2 separate regions of the Homo sapiens genome follow, and region 1 is linked to region 2. The links are contacts of gene promoters, found by promoter capture Hi-C in blood cells and fetal thymus (Javierre and others, 2016). All regions are on one chromosome and are shown on one strand. The core of a region is centred on a gene start or on the middle of the fragment in contact, and the rest is flanking DNA. Distances in the headings are between cores, read along the strand shown. Region 1 overlaps KLHL3 (kelch like family member 3). Region 2 holds the start of BRD8 (bromodomain containing 8).

What was found. Contacts are between HindIII fragments. The CHiCAGO score rates a contact against its expected background, and 5 or more counts as called.
Region 1: a fragment that was not itself captured here is called in contact with the fragment with the promoter of BRD8 in region 2 in 1 of 17 cell types (naive CD4 T cells); the score reaches 5.3 in naive CD4 T cells.

The regions. Positions count from the first base shown.
Region 1 is chr5:137,657,409-137,661,757 of GRCh38, forward strand. It overlaps KLHL3 (kelch like family member 3), which reads right to left. Exons shown (of 15, transcript NM_017415.3): 8 at 723-872. Among named protein-coding and RNA genes, the nearest start is that of MIR874, 12 kb to the left of the region's middle. The HindIII fragment of the contact is 651 bases long and covers 2,205-2,855 here.
Region 2 is chr5:138,175,820-138,179,879 of GRCh38, forward strand. BRD8 (bromodomain containing 8) reads right to left here and starts at 2,811. Exons shown (of 27, transcript NM_139199.2): 1 at 2,777-2,811; 2 at 1,752-1,848. The coding sequence starts at 2,795. KIF20A (kinesin family member 20A) reads left to right here and starts at 3,293. Exons shown (of 19, transcript NM_005733.3): 1 at 3,293-3,383; 2 at 3,841-4,026. The coding sequence starts at 3,862. RefSeq lists enhancers at 2,761-3,055, 2,763-2,812, 2,953-3,122. The HindIII fragment of the contact is 9,650 bases long and covers 1-4,060 here.

The DNA of each region.
Region 1 (4,349 bases), core at 1,280-3,779, 520 kb before region 2:
GACTTTAGGGATCGAGTGGAGCATCCCTCATTCTATAGATAAGGAGCCTGAGGGTCAGAGAGGAAAGAAGACTCGCAGGGAACCAAAGCAGCCAGCACACACCATAAACTCTAGGTCTCTAGATCATGGGGTCCCCTCCTGTGTCTTCCTTCCCTTTCCCTGGCTGCTCCCTCACAAATTCTCATTTCTCCCATTTCCTTCCTCTGCTTCGTGACCTGTCAAACTCCTCAATTTGACAGGGTCCCTTTTCTTAGAACCCCTTTTCTTCTCTGGGGCAGCCCTAATTGTCCTTTATGTCCTTCCCTGAGTGGGGAAAAGAAACAGACTAGGACTATTCTGACTCAAAGAATGGCCTAGAAAGAGGACTACTATGGCCATCACTAAGTGAAACCAACATAGCCATTCCTCTGCTTCCAACAGAAATAGAGCACAAGCCATGGTGTGAAATGAGAAGTCAGGGTGGGGGTGAGAGGGAGCTCTGAGTTATTCTCAAACCTCCCTGATGACATTGGAGGTTACCTTGAAACTCTTAGGAAAGGAAGACCCCAGAAGAGAGAGGTACCAGCAGATTCAAGAGGAACCAGCAGACTCCATCTCCTAGGTTGTAAATGCAACCAAGATGCAGGGCAGCCATGGGTGAGGAAAGACTTGGAGGCAGGAGTGGAAGGCCACTTTCCCAGGGCACAGTCCTGACTCTTGGTGGTGATTGGGCTGGGGCTTACCTTGGGAAGGCTGACTGGAGTCCTGGGCTTGGTCCTTGGGTTCTTAATCAATAGTCTCTGATCCAGAGGGAGGAGATGGTATTTCATGGCCTCAATGAGGAAGTCTTTACAGGTGTTGTTATTCTTTATCAAAGCTTCTTCTTCAACCGTCTAGAGGTAATAATCCACAGATGATCCTGGAGCACAGCTCAGCCACATTTCCCAAGCTTTCACCCTGGGCTCAGTCATTCCTGCACTCCCACACTCATTCATTCCTTCACCACATCATCTCAGACCCAAAGAGTTACAACTTACTGCTCACCTCCTGCATTTTAAGAGCACAGTGGGATAAGGGATCAAGCTCTGGCATTAGACCAGATCCACTACTTAACGTCTCTGATCCTCAGTTTCCTCATCTGTAAAATGGGCATATTAAAGGTATCTACAACCTCACTAGTTTTGTTTGTTTTGAGGCTTAAATGAGTTTATGCAAAACAAAAGACAAGTAGCCATCCTGAAAGCCTCTAACCACATTTCTCCTGATTTGAATGCATTATAATGCTTAGGGCAAACAGACATCTGAGAGGAGGAGTGAGGGGAAAGAGGAAAGGGTGTGGGAGCCATCAGCCAACCTTTGGAGGCATTGAGTAAAATAAGCTTGTCAAGGAGAAAGATTCATATTCGTTGTCTTATAGTGAAGGTCTCAGGGCAGAAAATCGGCCAGTGAGGCTCCTTCTAACAGAGTAACAACATCAGAGCAGAAAAATTACCCTGCACAAAGTCCCACCTATTGACCTCACCTAGGACTCCATCTAAGCTGGGGCTCTGGCTTCTTTATCTCTTATTCCAGAGCTTAGGACCTAAGCAGGTGCTCAGCACATGTAAGCCTAAAGGTTTCATGAGCAAGACCAAGCATGAAGCCATTCTGGTGCTCTAACTCTCCAATCCCCACCTTTTGGCCCAGGTCAGATCACTGTGTGGCATATCTGGAATGGGTAATGTGGTCTTCTGGGGCTGCTTTGTGTTAGGAAAGATCAATTCCATTCAACAGCTAACACTGATTGAATGTCTCCTGGTTGGGCAGCCCTGTGCTGGTCCCCAGGAAGAAAATGATGAACAAGACAAAATTTCTGACCCTGAAGAATTCAAGTCCAGTCAGAGAATGAGAAGGGCCTCCCACCTCAATTATCTCAGCCCTCAAGTCAGTGATGCACAAGGCATGACTGAGCCTCTCCTGGGTCCCCATCTGTCACTAGGAATGAAAGCATGGCCAGGGCCATCATCTGCTGGGCAGCATTGGAGCTGGCAGGGAAAAAAGGATTGGCAAGAGAAGGCCTCTGTGTACCTCTGACCACCTCCCTCCCCAGAGACAGTCCCCAAGAACTGTTTTCCTTGGAAGGTTTTTTTTTCCCCTCCCAGTAAGGAACTGAGCCAGCTTGAGACAAATCATAAACTTCTAGGGTCAATTACAAAATAAAAAGGGTGGGAGAGGATGCCTGAAAAAGCTTGGAAGGAAGGAGAAATGCATGAGCAGCTATTTCTCCAGAAGAACTTACTCAGCTTGAATTAAAAGTTCTCCTGGAAAGTTAGTGCTTCATGGGTACAAGAGTTTCAACTTTGGGGGTGATGACAAAGTTTTGGAAATCTTTATAGTAATGGTTGTACTGAATTTGAATGTAATGAATGCCTCTAAATTGTACACTTAAAATGGTTAAAATAACAAAGTTTATGTAATAAACATTTTATCACAACATATTATACATTTAGTACAATATTTTTAAATGCTGAGTAAAAGCCTAATAAATGCTACCTTTTGTGAAAGAAAAAAAAACCTCCCCCAGAAGTCAGGCAGTGTTGGTGGAGGTCTGCCCAGGGCTTTCCCTTCCTTCTCCTCCTCCTCCTCCACCACCATCAGCCATCCCAGCAATTATACTCATTTGAAGTTTCAAAGTCAAATGAATGTAATGAAACATCCTATTCCAGAGGTGTTCACTCTGAGAGGCCTGATAAAAGGCCTTTCTGCAAAAAGGGCAAAGGGAGGAGTCCCACACAACAGTTCTCATGCCCATTGCCTCTGACCCCCTTCTTTTCCAGATCTAAATTCTGCTTTGGCATAATAACCCAGGAGCCATTTCCTAATGGTGACGTTTGTTAAGCTTCAGTTGTGGATGCCTGATGAAGTTTGTGACCAACGGTCTCTAAGGCCACTTTAGCTTTCTCTGGAACCCAGGTCCCCAGGTTGCCAACCCTCCCTGTGGAAGCGAGACTATACTGGAGTCCAGGTGCCTCCTCCACCTCCAGCCAGCTTCCCACAGGACAGTGGGAGGTTTGACTGACACTGGATGCTCAGGCAAGTTCACTTCCTCCGCTTAGGGGACCTTTTCTACAGGAAAGATATGCTGCCACCAGGTGGCAGTGGTATCACCCAAAGTAGCATGCATGCCCCATTTAAGAGCTTGCAAGCATATCCCTCAGCACCTGAGAAGGCTGAAGTACGGCGATTCAGGGAACATTTCACTGACCCCTCATATCTGCAATCTACAAGTGTTACCAGCAGACGAGTTTACAAGTGCTCGTGAGGATACTGTGTCACCTGCTACTAAGAATCACAGCAGTGGTCACAAAGACTACAGAGTAAGATCAGTAACATTCACTGAACACTGTATTATAGGCCTACATGGATTATCTCATTTTATTGTTTATCCCCAAACAATCCTATAAAGGCAAGTGCCATTTTTTCCCGGTAAGAAAACTGAGGTTTAAAAAGGTTAAGCATGTACCCAGTATTATATGGCTGGAAAGTAACAAGAGCTGGGCTGCTGGGCTGCTAGGCTGCTAAACCTCCTCTTTATCCTTGCATCATATCTTCCCTTCCTTCCAGAGACTCCTTGGAGACAGCTGAGGGCTAACCTGCTGTCTCGATGTTTTGTTTTGTTCATATATTTTAAGGTTTATTCTCTGCTTATAAAAGTGTCTAATGCCATTTACTGTATAAAATAAGTCACGTAATGGGTATGCAGAAAAGAGCGTATCAATGGTGGCAGCTAGCTTAGCGGAAGAACTATGCACTGCAGAGCCAGAATGACATGGATTTGAATCCTGAGCCTCTCTAAGGCTAGTGACCCCGATAAATCCCAACCTCCATAAGCCTCAAGGCCTACATGTGTAAAAAAAGGAGTTACAATCTTTGCCCCTCTGGGTTATTATAAGGATTAAACGAGAAAACATATGGCACCATAAGGAAACCCCATAATTCTTAATTTTTCTTTCCTTTTCAGAGGAAGTGGAAGTACTCTGTATTCTAGGCACCGTTTTTACAGTCTTGAATTTGGCTTCAAGTTGCCTAAAACTAAGACATAAAGGGAACATAGAAACATTGTGGACATGACCCTTCTTGCTTCAGTCCTCTTCAACAAAGACAGCTAACTTTCATGGAACATTTGTTACCCCAGGCTCCACACGAAGCAGCTGACTTGCATACTCTACTCCTTTAGTCCTCACAACAACCCTGCTGGGCTCTACTATAATATCTGTTCTATGGAAGAAAAACTGAGGCTTGAAGAGGTTAAATAAAAATCCAAAACTAATAAGCAGCAGAGCAGAGACTGAAACCTAAGTGTCCTATTTTCAAGCCTATGCTCTTAAACT
Region 2 (4,060 bases), core at 1,561-4,060:
CGGAGGATCACTTGAGCCCAGGAGGCAGAGGTTGCAGTGAACCACGATCGCACTACTGCACTCCAGCCTGGGTGACAGTGAGACCCTGTCTGCAAAAAAAAAAAAAAAAAAAAAAAAAAGTCAAACATAATAAAGTTACTACATAACCCAGCAATTTCACTCCTTGAATAAAAAACTCAAGAGAATTAAAAACATTGTCCACAACCTTGTACACGAATGTGCACATCATCAGCATTATTCATAATGGCCAAAAAGTGGAAACAACCCAATTGTCTATCAAGTGATGGATAAATAAAACTTGGTATATTCATACAACAGATTATTATTCAGCTAAAAAAGGAATTAAGTATTGATACATGCTACATAAGAATGAACCTTAAAAAGTGTTATGTCAAGTGATTAAAAAAAACAAAAAAAAGTCCAGAAGAGCACGTATCATTCCATTTGTATGAAATATCCAGAATAGGCAAATCTACAGAGACAAGAGAGTTGGCTGGGTATGGTGGCTCACACTTGTAATCCCAGCACTTTTGGAGGCCAGGACTGGTGCATTACTTCAAGACCAGCCTGGACAAAACCTCATCTCTACTAAAAATACAAAAATTAGCCAGGCCACTCGTGGCGCATGGCTGTAATCCCAGCTACTTGGGAGGCTAAGGCACGATAATCGCTTGAACCTGGGAGGCGGAGGTTGCAGTGAGCCAAGATCTAACTACTACACTCCAGCCTGTGTGACAGTGAGACTCTGTCTCAAATTAATTAATTAATTAATAGAAAGTAGATGAGTGCTTGCTTGGGGGTGGTGAGGAGGGGACAACATGGACTGACAGTTAAGGAGTAAGGGGTTTTTCTTAGAATAAAATGTTCTAAAATTAGATTGTGGTGATGGTTGCACAACTGTGAATATACTAAAAACCATTATATTGTACATTTTAAGTAGGTTAATTTTATAGTATGTGAATTATATCTCAATAAAGCTGTTTAAAAAAAGAAATACAGCTGGCCTGGTGGCTCACACCTGTAATCCCAGTAGGTTGGGCGGATCGCTCGAACGCAGGAGTTCGAGACCAGCCTAGGAAACATGATGAAACCCCCATCTCTACAAAAAAATAAAAAAAATTAGCTGGGCATGGTGGTGTGCACCTGTAGTCCCAGCTACTCAAGAGGCTGAGGTGGAGGATCATTTGAGCCTGAGATATGGAGGTTGCAGTGAGCCAAGATCACACCACTGCCCTCCAGCCTGGGCCACAGAGTGCAATCTTGTCTCAAAAAAAAAAAAAAAAAAATAGGCCTGGCAGTGGCTCACGCCTGTAATCCCAGCACTTTGGGAGGCCGAGGCGGACAGATCATGAGGTCAGGAGATTGAGACCATCGTGGCCAACATGGTGAAACCCCGTCTCTACTAAAAATACAAAATTAGCCAGGCATGGCCAGGCGCAGTGGCTCACACCTGTAATCCCAGCACTCTGGCAGGCCGAGGTGGGGGGATCACCTGAGGTCAGGAGTTCGAGACCAGCCTGGCCAACATGGCGAAACTCTGTCTCTACTAAAAAATACAAAAATTAGCTGGGCGTGTCCGCACCACTGCACTCCAGCCTGGGCAACAGAAGGAGACTCAGTCTCAAAAAAAGAAGAAAAAGAAAAGAAAGTCTACTTACAGCTTAATATGATTAACTATAGAAATCTACCGATGTGAAAGAGTATCTAACAATTTCTAAGACCCAGAAAAGCTGACATCCTAGATACCTTACCAATTTTGATCGCCACTTCTCATGACAGAAGATGCTAAACATAGCTTCTCTCGGATGGACCATGGCTCTGTGGGGCCAGTGCTTAGCAGCTTGTGTTCTGGGAAAGGGAGAAAAAAAAAAAAGCCTTGGAAACAACCACTGAGACTGTAGTGCTAAGCTCCAAAATCCCCAAAAAGAGGACTAAAAGCCTAATACAAAACATCCCAACTTGTTAGGACAAAGTGAGCTACTATAACCAAATCTTGATTTTCACCTCTCCAAGTGAAATATCACCAGTGACCGGGGTACCTATTCGTTGCATGTGAATTATTAACATTTTATTTCTTAAAACGCCATGGCTTGAAGCTCCGCTTTATTAAGAAACAGGGAATGTCAGATTAGGCAGTTCTCCCTAAAAGCCCAGTTTTAAGAATACTGGACTTTATTCCAGTTTGAACTTATTCAGGGCTTATTTCCCAGGAACCCGAGCGGCCAGCCCCTCCTACTACCCCGCCTCCCTCTTAGCATAAACTTGTTTACTTCTCTCAGATCCTCTACTCCAAATGTCGGGGGTAAAAGAGCTTTTCAGTCCAAAAAAAGAAAAATGGCTGAAATCCCCGAGATGCAATTTCCTGAGTGGCAAGAAAAGCTCATGGTTAAAAGACCCCACTTCCACTGCCTCACAAACGTCAGACAAAAAAATGAATGGCTCTTTGAGGTGCCGGTTACTCCGTCTGGCTCATAACATCTTTTCGTCTGCACGCCCAAGTTTCTAGAGTGCTTTTACGGTTAACCCGCAGAGTTCCTAACACACTAGGATTCACTAAGCTGCTTCTCTCACACCTCCGCTCTCTCCCTGAGAAACAAGACCCCAGATTTCTGGGCCCCCAAACGTTGGTCTTCACGATGCTGTAGAGCGCAGGTCTCTGAAAACCCTGGGCTCTCAAGCAACCCACTTCTCCCACTCCCTAAGCGTGTAACAAAAATATGGTGCCTAGCCTCGGATCTACAAAGGCCTTTCACGCAAAACCTGCTCAGATACTCACTGCCCGTTCCCGTCGCCATCTTGGCCCCGAAGTCTCCAACCCTGAGGAGAGACGGTCTGGAAGGGCCGAAACCCTGGAATTCTGGGAAATAGTGTACCGGCGTTGGTTCGCGGTGCCTCCTGGGAAATGTCGTTTTTCCCCTTAAGACAAAGCAAGCACCCTAAACCAGTTACCCTGTGCACTCCTGTTAAGATTGTTGCTAAGGAAGGACAGGAGTTGGCTGCTGAAGCCTCAAGATTTCCTTTAGGCTCTTAGGTAAGAAATGTCTAAGGTTCAAGGAAAAAGGTTAAGTTGGAAGAATCCCAGGCAAAATAAGTGCGAATCCACGACAGTTGGTAACCCGGACCCACATTAGAACTCAGAGGTCAAGCAGAAGCGAACGACTGGAATTCCAGTCAGGCCCGCCCCCTTTCCTTACGCGGATTGGTAGCTGCAGGCTTCCCTATCTGATTGGCCGAACGAACGCAGCGCGTAATTTAAAATATTGTATCTGTAACAAAGCTGCACCTCGTGGGCGGAGTTGTGCTCTGCGGCTGCGAAAGTCCAGCTTCGGCGACTAGGTGTGAGTAAGCCAGTATCCCAGGAGGAGCAAGTGGCACGTCTTCGGGTGAGTGTGCGGCTGTGCTGGAGCCCGGGTTACCAGCTCTTGCCCGCGCGGAATAGGCTTTAAGAAATCGGAGCTGCAGCCATCTGTTTTTCTCTTAATGCTGCATCTCTGTTCTCACGGTGGTCCTTGGGGTGAGGTTAGAGAAGGAGCCGAGGGATCCTGACACCACCTCCACAGCACCGGCGGGCGAGGTGCCCTACTTTAGGCGTAGCCTTCTGCTTTTGGAGCCAGATGTCTGTGGACTTCTGTTCGCGTTCAGAAATGCCGCCTCAAACTTCTCTCAATTGTTCATTAAGTGAACTTCTCTCATTCCCTTCCCCTTTGCCGATAATTGGAGGGGAAAAGAAGTAGGAAGCGGGACACGGTGTCCTGGGGCAAGGGACTTATTACCTAAAATTCGCGGCCCCTTCTGTCCCTAAAGGTTCTTCTCCCTGCCCACTTTTTGGTCTCTTTTTAGACCTAGGCTGCCCCTGCCGTCATGTCGCAAGGGATCCTTTCTCCGCCAGCGGGCTTGCTGTCCGATGACGATGTCGTAGTTTCTCCCATGTTTGAGTCCACAGCTGCAGATTTGGGGTCTGTGGTACGCAAGAACCTGCTATCAGACTGCTCTGTCGTCTCTACCTCCCTAGAGGACAAGCAGCAGGTAAAGGAACTGGGGAGTGGCTGGGGCGGAAAGT